Regions from separate parts of the Homo sapiens genome. Here all the other regions are linked to region 1. Evidence: promoter capture Hi-C in 16 types of primary human blood cells and fetal thymus (Javierre and others, 2016). All regions are on one chromosome and are shown on one strand. Each heading gives the region's core, a stretch centred on a gene start or on the middle of the fragment in contact. The rest is flanking DNA. Distances are from core to core; before and after follow the strand shown. Region 1 holds the start of DHCR7 (7-dehydrocholesterol reductase). Region 2 holds the start of LTO1 (LTO1 maturation factor of ABCE1). Region 3 holds the start of PPFIA1 (PPFI scaffold protein A1). Region 4 overlaps CTTN (cortactin).

Evidence for each region. Contacts are between HindIII fragments. The CHiCAGO score rates a contact against its expected background, and 5 or more counts as called.
Region 2: a contact is called between the fragment with the promoter of LTO1 here and the fragment with the promoter of DHCR7 in region 1, in 1 of 17 cell types (total CD8 T cells). The highest score is 7.0, in total CD8 T cells.
Region 3: the fragment with the promoter of PPFIA1 here is called in contact with the fragment with the promoter of DHCR7 in region 1 in 1 of 17 cell types (neutrophils); the score reaches 5.3 in neutrophils.
Region 4: a fragment that was not itself captured here is called in contact with the fragment with the promoter of DHCR7 in region 1 in 1 of 17 cell types (endothelial precursors); the score reaches 7.2 in endothelial precursors.

The regions. Positions count from the first base shown.
Region 1 is chr11:71,446,661-71,450,704 of GRCh38, forward strand. DHCR7 (7-dehydrocholesterol reductase) reads right to left here and starts at 1,733. Exons shown (of 9, transcript NM_001360.3): 1 at 1,630-1,733; 2 at 950-1,074. It overlaps DHCR7-DT (DHCR7 divergent transcript), which reads left to right and starts at 1,868. Exons shown (of 2, transcript NR_186309.1): 1 at 1,868-2,225. RefSeq lists a silencer at 1,400-2,039 and an enhancer at 1,765-2,266. The HindIII fragment of the contact is 9,377 bases long and covers 360-4,044 here.
Region 2 is chr11:69,673,460-69,677,503 of GRCh38, forward strand. It overlaps LTO1 (LTO1 maturation factor of ABCE1), which reads right to left and starts at 1,894. Exons shown (of 5, transcript NM_153451.3): 1 at 1,731-1,894. The coding sequence starts at 1,780. RefSeq lists a silencer at 1,476-1,565 and enhancers at 1,686-2,186, 2,056-2,255. The HindIII fragment of the contact is 5,284 bases long and covers 1-3,439 here.
Region 3 is chr11:70,267,896-70,271,939 of GRCh38, forward strand. It overlaps PPFIA1 (PPFI scaffold protein A1), which reads left to right and starts at 2,795. Exons shown (of 28, transcript NM_003626.5): 1 at 2,795-3,019. RefSeq lists silencers at 2,380-2,929, 2,970-3,399. The HindIII fragment of the contact is 13,908 bases long and covers 1-4,044 here.
Region 4 is chr11:70,408,434-70,412,477 of GRCh38, forward strand. It overlaps CTTN (cortactin), which reads left to right. Exons shown (of 18, transcript NM_005231.4): 5 at 1,398-1,527. Among named protein-coding and RNA genes, the nearest start is that of CTTN, 12 kb to the left of the region's middle. The HindIII fragment of the contact is 840 bases long and covers 1,473-2,312 here.

The DNA of each region.
Region 1 (4,044 bases), core at 483-2,982:
ACATTTAAAAAATTTCAACGATGAAAGACATTTTCCTTATGCAGTGTGAGAACTTCAGTACCCGCACTTCATTCAATTTACACAAGTTAGTTTATGCAGTTCCTATGATGCACAAAACAAGACGAAGAGTTCTTGATAGGAAGAGACCGTGTCTCTCTCCGGCCCCAAATACTGAATACAGAGCCTGGCGAGTGCCAGTCACTCTCCTTATATCTGTAAAATCAAAGTGGATGAAAGAAAACTACTTCTGAGAAAAGCTGACACGCTAGTGAGTCTGATCTCAAGATCACAGCCACCTGGACAAGCTGGCTTGCTTTAGACAGTTCCTCTCCCCCAGGCTCTCATCAAGGTAAGATACAAGCTTAGTTTCTTCCCAGCCAAAACTTACCAGCTCAGTGCCCCCACTCCCTCCGATCCCTAGTTCCCACACTGACTGGTGTTAATCCAGACCACCCACATGCACACTTGCCTTACAGGAAGGCTAAGTAGAATGGGGTGGCATTCGTCTTGCCCCAAGCCATGGATAAGCTACAAGGGGACAATGCCTGGTACCAACATTATCAATTATGTAAAACACTGGGAAATTGCAAAAGGGTCAGGGGATGTGTAACCTCAGAACTAAAGTGTGAAAAAGCCACTGGGAGAATGTTGTCAAAAGGGATTAAAACAAGACCAAAGAAGTACTTTTAGCTTATTACAGAGTTCATTCACCCAGGAGTCAGCTCTTTAGCCACAAGCATTGAGTTGTGCAATAAACATCTAAGTAACATCCTTCCCAATAGACGGCTGGGAACAGACAAAGGGGAGGTGCCCTGGTATGTTGTATTTTACTCATAAGAGGCACAGACAGTCGTTGGCACTCGAGAGCTGGTGGACCAGTCTGTCTGTACTTTCAACGCTGTGAAGCCATAGCCTGCGCCCACGATCCAGGGCACTGAGATACACTTACCTCCAGCCTCTTGCCAAATAGTTTCACAGCAGAAGGGAACTTTTCCTTCTTGAACCGGCCCCTTAAAAGTTTCTAGACACCTGTGCTCCAAATGCCTGCTTGATCCTTCTCAACCGGCTAAAGTCCTGCAAGGAACACAAAAATGAATAAGACCGCAGGCAGCTGACATTTCAGGAGAGGGCAGAAGCTCAAGGCCCACAGTAGGAGTCAAGCAAGAGGCAGAAGGTCCAGTGCTCAGGGCTTCAACAGCCGCATGTCAGGGAGGACGGCGGACAAGCCAGTCCCATCGCAAAGCTGCTGTGCCTGGCTCAGCACTGACAAAGAGGGAGGCGAACAACAGGTGGGGCAGGAGAAAGAGCCGCCGCGGAGCGCGGCATGGGGCCAGGAGCCGACCCCGGAGCCAGGCAGCCTTCGCCCGGGGAAGCTCCAGACAGCGCGGGGACAGAGCATCCCTCAGACGCCGGCTCGTGGGGGAGGGGGACTATCCACGCCTCCGCCCCGCCTCCCCGGAGCCCCAGCGGCCCCTCGCCTGTGAGCTGGACCCTCTCCCCACCTGCGCGCACGCCCCCTACCCCTGACCCCACCCTCGCCCTGTGAGTGGGCACCTGCTCACCTGGGCAAGCGCCCCCCACTGCGCACACCTTCCCCTGGCCTCACCTGCGCACACCTTGGCCACTCACCTGCGCACACCTCGGCCCCTCACCTGCGCCCACCTTCCCCTGGCCTCGCTTGCGCGCGCTGCTCCACGCCGCCTACCCTCTAGCCAGGGGTCGGAGTCACCCGCAGGGCAGGGGCGCCCGCCCCCGGATGATGTCAGCGATTGCCTGCCAATCGGAGGCGGACCCTGCACGCCCGGCGGCTCCGCGCCCCGTGATTGGTCGAGGAGCCTGAGCTGACTCCGGGCCCACCGCGCCCGCCATTCGGCAGCGGCCGGACTCGAGATTGACGGCCCAGGCCCCGCCCTGCCGCCCCACCGGCCCGCCCGGGCCCTAGTGGGTGGGCGCAGCCTCTGGCGCTTCTTCGGGATCCCAGCTGACCAGCTGGGGGTGGGGCGTGGCGGAGTGGCCACGTGGGCCGCGCGGAGAACGCGCCAGGCTCATCACCTGGATCATCGTGCCTCAGTTTCCCCCTCGGCAAATGGGGCTTCAGCGGCTCGCGACGCACATTGATGGAGCGTATGTCCAGGCGCCGGTGCACCGCAAGGAGCAAAACAGACACAGTTCTTGGTCCTAGGGCTCACGTCCCGGGGCGAAGAGGATCCTCCATAAACGATCAGGTAAACACATGGGTGTCAGGGAAGGCTCGCCGCTGGGAGACCGCCAAAGTGACCCGAGATGGAGTCTGGGTGGCCTGCTTATTAGGGGGGCACACCTGTGCGAGGACGGGAGGGGAGGGAGCAGCAGGACTGGGCAAAGGGAGAAGCTGAGCCACAGTGCGAGCCGGACGCACGGGCCACGTTGCGAGGGCATGACCTGGGGCGAGGCAGCCCTGGAGGAGGGGGCAGCTGAAGGTGTCTGCTGACCCCACACCCAACAGCTCGGGTAACAGGCCTTACTGTCAGAGCGATCTGGTTGCCACGTCTCTGTGGCCCTCAGAGAGACATCATGTTTTCTTTTTTCCCTGCACCTTTTTGTTTTGAAAAATGTTCAGCATACAAACAAGTTGAACGTAAAGTGAGCACGCAGATTCCTAGGTTCAGCAGGGGTGAGCAGCTGGCCACGTTTCATTTCTCTCCCTCTGTGTTTATATATGTGTATTTTTCTTTTTTCCTCCCCACTCAGCCCCCACCATTAGCTGCAGATACCGTGATACCCCCCTCCCAAATACTTCGGTATCCAACTCCTTAAGAACAAGAACCTCCTATATTACCAAAATACAATGACCACATCAGTTCAATGCTGTTATCTATTTTCCATCTCCAGTTTCCCGCGGTTGTCCCAATAATGCCCTTTACAGCCCTTTTGTTATTGTTGTTTTGTTTTGCTTTGTTAAGACGGGGGTCTCTGTCACACAGGCTGGAGTGTAGTGGCACGATCACAGCTCACTGCAGCCTTGAACTGCTGGGCTCAAGCGATTCTCTTCCCTCACCCTCCTGAGTAGCTGGGACTACAAGAGCACACCACCACACGCTATTTTTTTTTTGGTAGAGATGGGTGGGGGGGGGGGTCTCACTATGTTCCCCAAGCTGGTCTCGAACTCCTGGGCTCAAGCGATCCACCCACTGTGGCCTCCTACAGTGCTGGGACTACAGGTGTGAAGCTCTGCCCTACAGCCCTTTTTTAAACCCCAGGATCTAATCAGGGAGCCACACTGTGCATTCAGGCTATGCACTTTTTTTGGCAGGATAATATACTACATAGAGCATGTTTTATCTTGTTAGAAGGCTGTCAACCTGAAATAACCAAACAGGTCAGAATTTAGCTTAAAGAGAGTTTATTTAAGTGTATAAAGTTTGAGGACAGGCTGCCTGGGAAGCACAGATTTTAAAGAATGGAAATCAGTATTTTGAACTGTAGATGTTTGGGATCATTTATGTAGACAAATTTTAGGGAAGTTTAACAGAATTTTAACATCTTTTTATGCATAAAGTTATAATCTGACCAGCTGAGGTGGTCTTTTTTAGGTGGAAGGTATATTTAACATTTTACACTGAAGATGTAGGAGTCTGGTCTAAGTACGGGATAATAAGAGACAATCTATAATAAAGATCAGTAATTAAAAGGGGAGCAGGCCTGGTCTGTGGTCTCTCCTAGTCATTTATAAAACATGAATGATAAAGAAAAACAGCCTATAATCTAAAAGACAAAATTACAAACATGCTATGTGACCCAGTTTCTAGGACTTAACTTCCCTCTTGACATAATAAATTTATTTATTTTTATTTATTTATTTAAAGACAGGATCTTGCTCTGTTGCCCAAGTTGACCTAATAAATTTCAAGAGTCCTAAAATTTTCTTTTTTAAGACAACATATCACTGTGCTCCATGATTGATAGTGGGGCTCCGTGGTTTCTGCCAGAAGTCTCCATTTTTCCTTTTGTTATTAATGAGTAATTGGTGCAGTGATACTTTGAGACTGTAAATATGCTGTTCCC
Region 2 (4,044 bases), core at 644-3,143, 1.8 Mb before region 1:
GACACAGATTCCAGTCCCAGATCTACCACTTCCTATTTGCCTCTGGAAGTCACTGTACCTCTTGTAGCCCAGTTTCTTCATCTACAACAAAGGGCTAAATTAGGGATTCCCAAACCTGATAGGGTACTAGAAACACACAAGGAAAATTCAAAGATATTAACTCAAAAGCCTCACCCCCAGAGATTCAGTACGTCTGGAGCAAGGCCCTGGAATCTACTTTTCTTTCTTCCTTTTTTTTTTTTTTTTTTTTGAGACAGGGTCTCTGTTGCCCTGCCTGGAGTGCAGTGGTATGATCACAGCTCACTATAGCCTCAAACTCCTGGGCTCAAGCGATCCTCCAGCTTTGGCCGCTCCAAGTGTTGGGATTACAAGTGAGGGCCACCGCACCTGGCCTGCAATCCACTTTTCTTTTCTTGAGATGGAGTCTCGCTTTGTCGCCCAGGCTGGAGTGCAGTGGTGCGATCTCGGCTCACTGCAAGCTCTGCTTCCCGGGTTCACGCTCTCCTGCCTCAGCCTCCCAAGTAGCTGAGACTACAGGCGCCCACCACCACATCCGGCTAATTTTTTGTATTTTTAGTAGAGACGGGGTTTCACCATGTTAGCTAGGATGGTCTGGATCTCCTGACCTCGTGATCCGCCCGCCTCGGCCTCCCAAAGTGCTGGGATTACAGGCGTCAGCCACCGCATCTGGCCCGGAATCTACTTTTCAAAGTCTCCTAGATAAGTCTGGTTTGCAGCCAGAGTTAGGGGGCCAAAGTTCTGTGAGTGTTCAAGTAGCACTAGCCCAAGTCAACCGCTTCCAAAAAACTGCAACATACACAGGGTTTGACATCACATGGGTAGGGCAACAGAGAGAAATGGCATCAGATCACCACAAAATGTTCTCCGACTGGTACCCGGAGTAGCACTGACCCTGAGGCCCAACAGTGGAACTGCCACTATCTTAACCTGCAGTCACCAAACATGCAAGGAGTGGGCTGCAGCGCCCCATGAAGCAGGGTGCATAGCTCCCCACTTAATAGTTGTGTGACCCTGGAAAGTGACTGTGCCTCCTAGTCTGTAAATTCCGAAGAATAATAGGATCCACTTACTAAGTAGGGCTGAAGTAGATAACCAGGGTGGAACGTTTAGCTCAGTGTCTGACTCACAGCGCGAGCTAAATAAACGTCAGCGCCTGACTGCTAAATGTTCGGCCGCTTTCTTAACTAACATCTATGGACGCGTCCTCTGGGCCGGGCACTGGAAGTCAGCCAGGAGGCAACTCACAGCTCCCCCACTGTCGCAGCACGAGGGGCTCCCCAGGGGCTCTGGAGGGAAAAGGGGTGTGGTCGGGTACATCTATCAGCACATCCATGAATACTGCCGTATGTCCTATGATTAAGGAACCAGAAAAAAAGGCAGCTCCCAGATGGCAAAGGTCTGTCCTCCCAGAGGACGAGGCGGCCTCGGAGGAGGGGAACCACCAGGCTGAGCAGATGTTTGGGGCAGCCCTGACAGGGAAGGCGGGTCTGGAAGAGCAGCTGGGCACGTGCCCCGCCGGAGCGGGCCAGGAGAAGAGGACCAGAGCATCAGGCCCACACTTGTCCCTGCGTCCACGGCCACCAGGCGCTCCCCAATGCGCACGCCCAAGGGACGCCAGGCTCCAGCAGCCGCCCTGGGCCGCAGCCGGCGGCGAAGCCGCTGGGAGACGACCAGACAGGGCGGGGTGCGGGCCCGGCCTCACCACCCACCTCTCATCCGCCATCACGATGGCATCGAATATGTCCTGACTGCCAGCCATAGCGGCAAGCAGCCCGCCCTTGGCCCCCGGGTTTCTGCAGCCCCGCGGTGCCGTAGCAGACCCGGCAGCTTCAGGCACAAATGCTCCGCTTGGGAGGAGACGAGACCCACTTCCGGAAGCGGCGGCGCGGGGCAGGCCGGGTAAGAACGGCACGCGGGAGGGCCCAAAGCAGCCTGTACATGGCGCATGCGCGGCTGCAGCGGTGGGCGGGGCCGGCCTCGACTGAAGCCCCGCCCTGGGGTCCTTTCGCCCTGCCCAGCTCCAGCAAAGGGCCTGTCTGTCCGCGCTGGGAGCGTCCATTGGCCGCGCGCGTGGAGAGCCGACCTGTATTTTACCACTGCAGATAGAACCGAATTTCCCAAAGTGGCTCCGAAAGAACCAAGGAAGAAATGGGAAGTCATCAGCTGGCGCGGTGGCTCACGCCTGTCATCCCAGCACTTTGGGAGGCCGAGGCGCGCGGATCACCTGAGTTCGGGAGTTCGAGACCAGCCTGGCCAACATGGTGAAACCTCGTCTTTACTGAAAATACAAAAATTAGCCGGGCATGGTGGCAGGCGCCTGTAATCCCAGCTACTCGGGAGGCTGAGGCAGGAGAATCACTGGAAGCTGGGAGGCGGAGGTTGCAGTGAGCCGAGATCGCACCACTGCACTCCAGACTGGCGACAGAGCCAGACTCCGTCAAAAAAAAAAAAAAAAAGGGAAAAGAAATGGGAAGTCATCAAAGAACCGACGCCTCAGGAGGCTCCAGGCCAGGAGGCTCTGCATGTGGGATTTTGGGCAGAAATTTGTCGGTTTTAGTTCTCATATTTGTCATTTCCATGAGATGTGCTTTCTGAACACGATTTTTAAAAAGGGATTTCAAAGTCTAAGCGACAACGGAACTCAGATGAGAAACACCAGAAGCATTCCTAATAAAGTCAGTAGTAAAACCTCACGTGACCACTGAACATCTTTCTACCAGCCCTGGCCAATGCAGTAAAACATGAAGCAAGAAGTGGAAATACCAAAAAAAAAAAAAAAAAAAAAAAAAGGCAGAAATACTACTATTTGCAGATATGATGGCCCACGTGGAAAACCCAAATAGTCACCTAAGACGTTCTCAGAATCCATAATCGCAGCAAGTAGCTATGTGTATGATGAATAGGGAAAAAAACACTTTCTGTTATTCCAACAATAATTGGTAGTAACCTGAGCAGGGGTGGTGATGGGAAAATCGCCTTATGATAGTCATAATACATTTCTTAGAAATAAGAATTTCTAACAATTTGAGCAGGACCCATATAAGGAAAACTACAGCTCTACCATGATTGAGGATTGGGGAACTGAACAAGTGCAGTACCAAAGAAAATTCCATGAGATCTGGTAAAATGTGTCAAAATCCTAAACTTTTTCATCCGTATGAATAAACTAATAAAAATAACTAAGATGTTTTAGAAAAAAATGATTTTCATATCAGATATGAAAAGATAAAGTGTCAATATAAATATTGTGGTATGTTGGTTCAAGAAGTGGCAGACCAGTGAAATAAAGTAAATGGCCCAGACAATGGACTCTCATAGATGTAAAGCCTTCTCATGTGGTAAAAAGAAGAATTACAAATTAATTGGAGAAAGGAAATATTAACTAATAACTATAATGGAAAATTGGTTGTTTGGGAAAAGCTTGGTTCCATTTATGCCTCACACCATTCATCAAAATAATTCCAGATGAGTTAAAGAGTTAACTTAAAAAAATTAAGCACATTGGCTGGGCACGGTGGCTCACGCCTGTAATCCCAGCACTTTGGGAGGCCCAGGCAGGTGGATAACCAGAGTTAGGGAGTTCGAGACCAGCCTGACCAACATGGAGAAACCCCGTCTGTACTAAAACTACAAAATTAGCCTGGCGTGGTGGTGCATGCCTGTAAGCCCAGCTACTCGGGAGGCTGAGGCAGGAGAACCCAGGAGACAGAGGTTGCAGTGAGCCGAGATCACACCATTGCACCCCAGCCTGGGCAACAAGAGCAAAACTCCATCTCTAAATAAATAAATGAATAAAGCACATTTTGCCTGTAATCCCAGCACTTTGGGAGGCCGAGGCGGGCGGATCATGAGGTCAGGAGATCGAGACCATCCTGGCTAACATGGTGAAACCCCGTCTCTACCAAAAAATACAAAAAAAAAAAATTAGTGGGGCATGGTGACGTGTACCTGTAGTCCCAGCTACTTGGGAGGCTGAGGCAGGAGAATGGCATGAACCTGGGAAGTGGAGCTTGCAATGAGCCG
Region 3 (4,044 bases), core at 1,545-4,044, 1.2 Mb before region 1:
ACTCATACTAGAAGTGATGTCTTAGCTCTGCGTTCCCAAGACCTAAGCCATGCTTGGCTCATACATGCTGCACAAATATTCATGAAATGAATGAACATTCTACCCTGCCGAACTAAATTTTGATCTTGAGCCGATTTTTCTTTTTTTTTTTTTTTTTGAGATGGAGTCTCGCTTTGTTGCCCAGGCTGGAGTGCAGTGGCGCGATCTCGGCTCGCTGCAAGCTCCGTCTCCCGGGTTCACGCCATTCTCCTGCCTCAGCCTCCCGAGTAGCTGGGACTACAGGCGCCTGCCACCACGCCCGGCTAATTTTTTGTATTTTTAGTAGAGACAGGGTTTCACTGTGTTAGCCAGGATGGTCTCGATCTCCTGAACTCGTGATCCGCCTACCTCGGCCTCCCAGAGTGCTGGGATTACAGGCGTGAGCCACTGCGCCCGGCCTTGAGCCGATTTCTTAGAAAACAGACACTTTATGAGCATGGTGCAAACATAAGCTGGCTGCATTAAGCAGGTACCCCTAAGGAGAGCTGGAAATTTGCTGGTTTCAGACAGTGGTTCAGGGGAACTTGGGAGTTGTGCAGAATTGCTGGGGTGTGGAGAGGTACAGGGTACTTGCAGAACACCTCATCTAAGCGATCAACTTTACAATTTTATTATTTTTGAGACAGAGTCTCGCTTTGGCACCCAGGCTGGAATGCAGTGGCACAATCACAGCTCACTGCAGCCTCGACCTCTCAGGCTCAAGCGATCCTCCCACCTCAATCCCCCAAGTACCTGGGACTACAGGTGTGGCCCACCTTGCTGGACTAATTTTTAATTTTTTGTATAGACATGGGTCTCGATATATTGCCCAGGCTCAAGCAATCCTCCCACGTTGGCCCCCCAGCGTGCTGGGATTACAGACGTGAGCCACTGCACCTGGCCAATGTTTTTTTTTTTTTTTTTTTTCTGAGACAGAGCCTCGCTTTGTCTCCCAGCCTGGAGCGCAGTGGCATGATCTCCTCATTGCAACCTCCACCTCCCAGGTTCAAGCTATTCTTCCACCTCAGCCTCCTGAGTAGCTGGGATTACAGATGCCCGCCACCACACCCGGCTAATTTTTGTATTTTTAGTAGGGATAGGGTTTCACCATGTTGGCCAGGCTGGTTTTGAACTCCTGACCTCAAGTGATCTGCCCACCTGGGTCTCCCAAAGTGCTGGGATTACAGGCTTGAGCCACCGCACCCGGCCTCACCTGGCCATTTTTACACTTTTAAAATAGCAAGAAACTAGGGGCAAAAAGTACATATTCATATCTATGTGTAGTCAGTCAATAAATATTTATTGAATGAACGAATAAATTAATGGAAGGTGTTCCAGATCCTGGTAGGCGAGAGTCAGTCGGAGGGAGTGCTTGTTCTTGGTGCACTCACAATGGAGAATCAAGGAATTCACCTTGGACGGGCTCATTTCTCCCTCTCCTAGGCCCCGTGCAGCCTCTTCTCAGACTTACTAGTTCTGAGGGGCTCCTGGCTGCCTCACACCAACAGCAGTGGCCAGTGGACACTGGCGATGGTGTCCTGACATTTTGGTTTGTGAAGAGTTTGTGCTCCGAGTCAAATCCTGGGAGGAGTGGGGAGGGCATCCGCTTTAATTAATTAGAGGTGTCTCTATTCATCTCCGTATCTGCAACATCTAGCACAAGACTTGGCCCATAGTAGATGTTTAAAAATTCTTGCTGAGGCCGGGCGCAGTGGCTCACGCCTGTAATCCCAACACTTTGGGAGGCTGAGGCGGGCAGACCACCTGAGGTCAGGAGTTCGAGACCAGCTCGACCAACATGTAGAAATCCCGTCTCTACTAAAAATACAAAATTATCTGGACTTGGTGGCGTGCGCCTGTAATCCCAGCTACACGGGAGGTTGAGGCAGGAGAATCACTTGAACCCGGGAGGCAGAGGTTGCAGTGAGCCGAGATGGCGCCATTGCACTCCAGCCTGGGTGACAAGAGTGAAACAACGTCTGGAAAAAAAAAAAAACTTGCGGAAAAGATGAAATGACCAAGACTCGCGCAGTGCTGCCCGTCAGGCTCTCAACTAGTCGCTCTTCACATCTGATTCATGTCTTAAAGCAGCCTCGCAGGTAGGTCTGCATCATTTTCCCATCCTACATCGGAGGCGCTGAAGCCCAGGCGGGTTTCCCGAGTCGCCCGGGCCCACGCTGCAGAGTGAAAGCCACAGCGGCAAAGCCTGCACTCTGGACGCTGCGCCGGGACGTCCCCAGGTGCGGCAGGCAGCGCTCCGTAAGTGGGTCCTGGCGGGAACTCCGTCCTTCTGAACCCAGATCAGGCCCAGGGAGACCGTAGGGGCGCCGCGGCGGGCGGGGTCTGGGTCCTCGGTGGTGACTGAAGCCTCGGTTCGCTCTTCTGCAAGGTGCGAATCCAGAGCCTCCAGCTCGGGAGGGACCTGACGTGCCGGACGCGTCCAGCTCAGAACTCGAGGCGCGGTAGACACTCAGCAAAGGCCTCCGGCGTCCCTGCAGCCGTGGGGGGAAACTGGGGACGCCCGGAGGAAGACGCTGACCCGGCGAGCACCTGAGCGCCCACCTGTGGCTCATCCCGGAGACCGCCCCCTCCCCCGCGACCCGGGCGGGGCCTGGGGGGCGTGGCTCCCGTCTCGCTCAGCCAATCAGTGCCCCGGGGCCGCCTCCCGCCCCCTCCTGAGGAGACAGCGCTTGCGTACTCGGGCCAAGGTGCTCCTCGGGCCCCGCCCCCGGGGCGGTGCTGACGCTCGCGCCGACGCGCTCGACGTCGGGCACGTAGACGCCGGCGCCGCGCAGCCGGGCCCGCTCCTCCTCCGCTCCGCCAGTGTCCGGCCGCGGGCCGGCCTTAGTGACTGGGGCGGCGGGCCCCGGGGCCGCGGCGTGGGGCGGGCAGGCGGACGCCGGCCGCGGGCTGCTTTCGTCGGCTCCCAAGCTCTCCCGGAGCGAGCAGCCGCCCGCGAGCCGCCGCGGAGCCTCCTCGCCCGCTCCCGCCGGCGAGCAAGGTAAGGGAGCGGGACACTGAGGCAGGCTCGGGGCCCAGGCGTCACCGGCGCGTCCCGGTCTCCGCGGCGGCCACGCAGCCGATTAGATGTCTCCGCGGGGAAGGGTGCGCTCCGGGACGGGTGGGGGCGAGGCCGCGGCGCCGGGTCGCGCTGGGAGAGCTCCGGCGGGACACCCGCGCCCCAAGGGACGGCTCCGGGGACTGCGCGCTGCCCCTCCCCGAGCCCCGCGCCCCGTGACCCGGGCGCTGGGGCGAGGGGCGGGGACCTGTGGCCGCTGAAAGCCCTGGCCCGAGCGGGCTCCGTTGTCAACGGTCCTCACCCCCCGGGGTTCGGGGCTTCCGCCGCACCTGATACAGGAGGGGAGGAGTGCGGCTCGAGCAGGCTGGAGGTCACCATCCCCATCAGGTGCGCCGTCTGGGGCATCCCCCTCTCAGGGGTCCACCGCGCCCCCAGTACTGCCCGAAAGGCTCAGAAGCGACTTCCCCTTTCCCTGGCGCTGTCTTTATATCCCAGACACTTAATAGACTCTCGTAATCTCACCTTTCACTTTTCCCTCTTTCCTAGCCGCCCCCGGCTGTATCGACCTGCTATATTTCCATTGTGGATTTTTTTTTTCGGTTGTAAACTTACGTAAGTTAGGTTGACCAACCGTTGCAGCCATTGGAAAACACTTCTACCAGCGTTTAACGAATCCGGTTCCTTTTAGTGCTCACCAAATCCAGCCCAAGAATTCAGGGAGCCGTCAGTTCTTCCCGGGAGCTGACTGCACACATTCCTGCAAGATGCCTGATGGATTTTGTACTTGTCAGTTTTGCTGGTTGTATGCTCCTTCTGTGCTTTTCCTGAAAAATGATTGGGTGACATGTGTTTTGACTTTCTCCCCCCCTACCCCCCCACCCTCCCCACCCCACTGGGAAGTAAAAAAAATAGGTAACAGAAGCACACTTGTTTTCAGCAAAAACAAGTACAGCTTTGCAAACAGACTACCCCAGGGCTTGCCCTTTTTTGTGAGGGTAGTCCTTTGG
Region 4 (4,044 bases), core at 643-3,142, 1.0 Mb before region 1:
GTCACCCAGGCTGGAGTGCAGTGGTGCAATCATAGCTCACTGCAGCTTTGACTTCCTGGGTTCAAGCGATCCTCTCACCTCAGCTTCCTGAGTAGCTGGAACCATGGGCGCACACCACAATGGCTAGCTAAGTGCTTTTATTTCTTGTAAAGATGAGGTCTTGCTTTTGTTGCTCAGGCTGGTCTTGAACTCCTGGGCTCAGGTGATTCTCCTGCCTCAGCCTCCCAAAGTGCTGGGATCACAGGTGTGTGCCGCCGCACCTGGCCCCCAGTGGCTTTTTATACACAAGTTTTAGTCCCTCTCTGGCTTGCTCAGCACACTCCCTTCCACAGAAGCAGCTTCGGAACTCCGGTGGCCGTGCGGCTGCCCAGGACAAGAGACTGGAATGGGGCTGACTTGGGAGTCCACTGTAGCCTTGGGTATTTGCTATGGCGTTAAGCAGACTCCTGAATTCGTTGAGTCATCATACCTCTTCTCATCTCTTCTGTTCCCTGTGGCTTCAAAACATGTCTCGGAGGGTGGCTTGGAGAAAAAACAACTCTCCAGTACAAAACCCTTGGGCTGGTTAGGATTCAGAGAGGAACACATGGGGAATAAGCCCATTCTTCATGCTCTGGGGCCTTCCCAGGTTTTAGGAGTGGTGTCTTTCTTTCTCCTGCTCATAAGGGTATTGGGCGGTTTCCAAGCCTGGTTTGTATTTCATCTTCAATTCTAGGATTGTCGTCCAGATGTCAAAGGTGGCGTCCTGGTGTCTCCTGGGCAGAAAGTCCGAATGCCAAAGTGGCCTTCTTATCACTCTGGGGTCTCTCAATGACAGCTGTGTCTGGCCTACCAGATTTGAGCAAACCTTGTCATCTGTTTCATTATCTGCTGTATTAAAATTTTTTAATGGCATTTAGATGTTAAATTCTGAAACGCTTTCCTCTCATCTTTGAATGTATAAAAAAGCTGGAGTACTTCAAGTACAGACGAATCATCTGAATGTTCAGCACCACTGGACTTCTGCCAGTGGCCGAGGAAGGGACCATAGCCTCGTGTTTCCCCCTCTACCTCTGGATGATTACAGACTAGCTTTCCTATTTTCTGCGTGTGAAATAAAGGTCAGGCTTCAGTAGAGCCATCTTTAGCGGGGATTTGGGATGATCCCAGTGTCTGCCTTCAGATTCGTGTTCTGTCTCCCACAGAGCATGCGTCTGATACTGCAGACTGCCGAAGTGGGTGTACCAGCCGGCAGAATAGTCAGGAAGGCACAGTGCAGGGAGAGAATCGGTGAACATCAGATAAGCAGATTTACAAATTTACAAAGATAATGTCACCTGTTCTTATTTATCATACCAGGAGGCAAAGCTGCACGTCTGTTTTATTGATCTGTTCCTATTTTCATCTCTTCCATCAAGCATACACAAGCTGAGGGAGAATGTCTTTCAAGAGCATCAGACCCTTAAGGAGAAGGAACTTGAAACAGGACCAAAAGCTTCCCATGGCTATGGAGGGAAATTTGGTGTGGAACAAGACCGAATGGATAAGGTAAGTGGCCCGCGGCTGCCTATGCCAGGCTCCTGGTGTGCTTGGACCACTAGACTGGGTGGCAGAGTCGTCCCTCAGTCTTTCCTTAGATCAGCAGTTTTGAGTCCATCTGCTGAGGTTGCGATTTGCCCGGAGTAGACCCCTGTTGATTGGACTTACTCATGAAGTACTCTAGCTTTCTTCAAAGCTCTTTAGGAATCCTCAGAGGTGCTGGAGCACGGGTGTTAGTGGGGAGGCCCAGAGAGGGAGATTGGCCCTCAGAGGCAGCCTTGTGATAGGACAGAAGTCCAGAAGCATCCTGGCTCTAGGTGTCATCACTGTCAATGCCTGTGGTTCCAGTCTGTAGCCTAAGTCATGCCAGTCCGAAGACCAAAGTCAAATCTGTAGGTCCCCATGGTTCACAGCACACACGGAATCCAGCCAAAGGCCTGGCTAACATCCTTCATGCGTTCAGTGACCATCAGAGCAGTCTCCCTCGTGTAAATTCGGCGCGTACCAGGCTGGGGACAGTGCTCACTCTATTCGAGAGGTCTGGGCAAGCCTCCCAGCAGCTGTCATTGATGGGATGCAGACTGCCACGCAGACGTTGATTGAGGACGTTGGCCAAATGCATCCGGCTGCACCCGTGCTTTAGGTCCTCTCTACCTTAAGAAAGGGAGCCACGTTAGCTCAGGAGGGCTACCTTTTCCTTCCTGGAGAGAAGATGGAAGAGATCGCAGTGTGTTTGCATGTTTCTTCAGTAAAACAGACATCCTGGAGGTGAACTTTTGAGTCTGAGCAACATAAGCTTGTTCTGACCTGACAGATGCTTGCCTTTACTCTGTGGAAAGAAGTGTGTTAGCCAGTGTCGGATTCCAGCCGGTAATTCCATACCCCTCTCCCACCTCATGCACCAGCCAGATGAACATTTGAGCTGGGCACGGGATGATGTTGCCGTGTCACAGTGAGCTGCACCTTGCTCTGTCCCCCGCAGAGTAGATGATGTGGTGGGCCGGCAGGGCACCCCAAACCACGACCATAAATAGCCTGGGGGAGGAGTGGGGTGAGGGACCTTCTGCAGGAAAGAGACATGGATGTTGCTGCGTCACTACCACAGAGATGCCCTGACACCGAGAAGAGCAATGTGTGCAGAATCATCATCTTTGGAGTCTAAAAAAAGTCTGGTAGCTTTTAGGAGTGTAAACAGGCAGACGGACCCCTGAGTTCAGTGCAGCGAGCGAAGCAAGTGCACACGGACAGACGGAATCCATGTGTTCAGTGCAGCGAGCGAAGCGTGTGCACACGGACAGACGGAATCCATGTGTTCAGTGCAGCGAGCGAAGCGTGTGCACACGGACAGACGGAATCCATGTGTTCAGTGCAGCGAGCGAAGCGTGTGCACACGGACAGACGGAATCCATGTGTTCAGTGCAGCGAGCGAAGCGTGTGCACACGGACAGACGGAATCCGTGTTCAGTGCAGCGAGCGAAGCGTGTGCACACGGACAGACGGAATCCATGTGTTCAGTGCAGTGAACGAAGCAAGTAGATAGGAGCCTTTCCCACTGCAGACTGAGGCGAGCCCTGTGCTTAGGGGGCTTGTGGGGAGTTAGCGCAGAGAGACATTTATTCTAAAAATGGGGCTCCCTGCTGTGGGTTGGGAAAATTACATATTGGGGAAAAGAAAGGCAACGTGTCAGGAGAGCCTGGTAGGGAAGCTGCTGTGGCTTCTCTGCTGCTGCTCGGCCTGCACCTTTTTTCAGCGCGAATCTCGCTCACCCTAGAACCTGCAGCTCAGGCCTTCCCGAGTGCCAGGAGCTCCCTGGAAGAGCCCTCACTTCCCTCTCTCCTGTGCGGTCTCCACAGCAGCCTCTGCTTCCCTCATGAGCTGTCCTTGCCTCATCCTGCTGTCCTTCCCAGGGAGACTCCCCTCCGGGCTGGGCTTTTCAAGGGTCGGGACTTGTCATCCTCACCTTGTGCCTGGCTCAGTGCCACGTGCCCCCCCCTTAGGCCAGTGCTCTCATGGAACCAAGGAGGCTTATGGAGCCTTGCTCTCACCTCTCAGCCGGCAAGTTGGAGAGCTGTCCTAGCAGGGCGAGTCCAGCAAGGGATGCTGCTGCTGCTCAGTCCCAGCTGGCATCGGGGCCAGGTTAGCGCTCAGCTCAGGTCAGCACCATGGGACAGATACGTTGTCAAAAATAACTCAGGGCCAGGTACGGGACTGGCACCTGTAATCCCAGCATTTTGGAAGGCCGAGGCAGGATGATCTTATCAGCCCAGGAGTTTGAGACCAGCCTGGGCAACATAGCAAGACCCTATCTCTACAAAAACATAATTAACTGGGCATGGTGGTGCACACCTGTAGTCCCAGCTGCTTGGGAGGCTAAGCTGGGAGGATCACCTGAACCTGGGAGGTGGAGACTGCAGTGTCCTGTGATCGCACCATTACAGTCCAGCCTGGGCGACAGAGAGAGACGCTGTCTCAGGAAATAAATAGATTAAACTCAGATTCCAAACCGAAGGGGAAACGGCTTAAGTT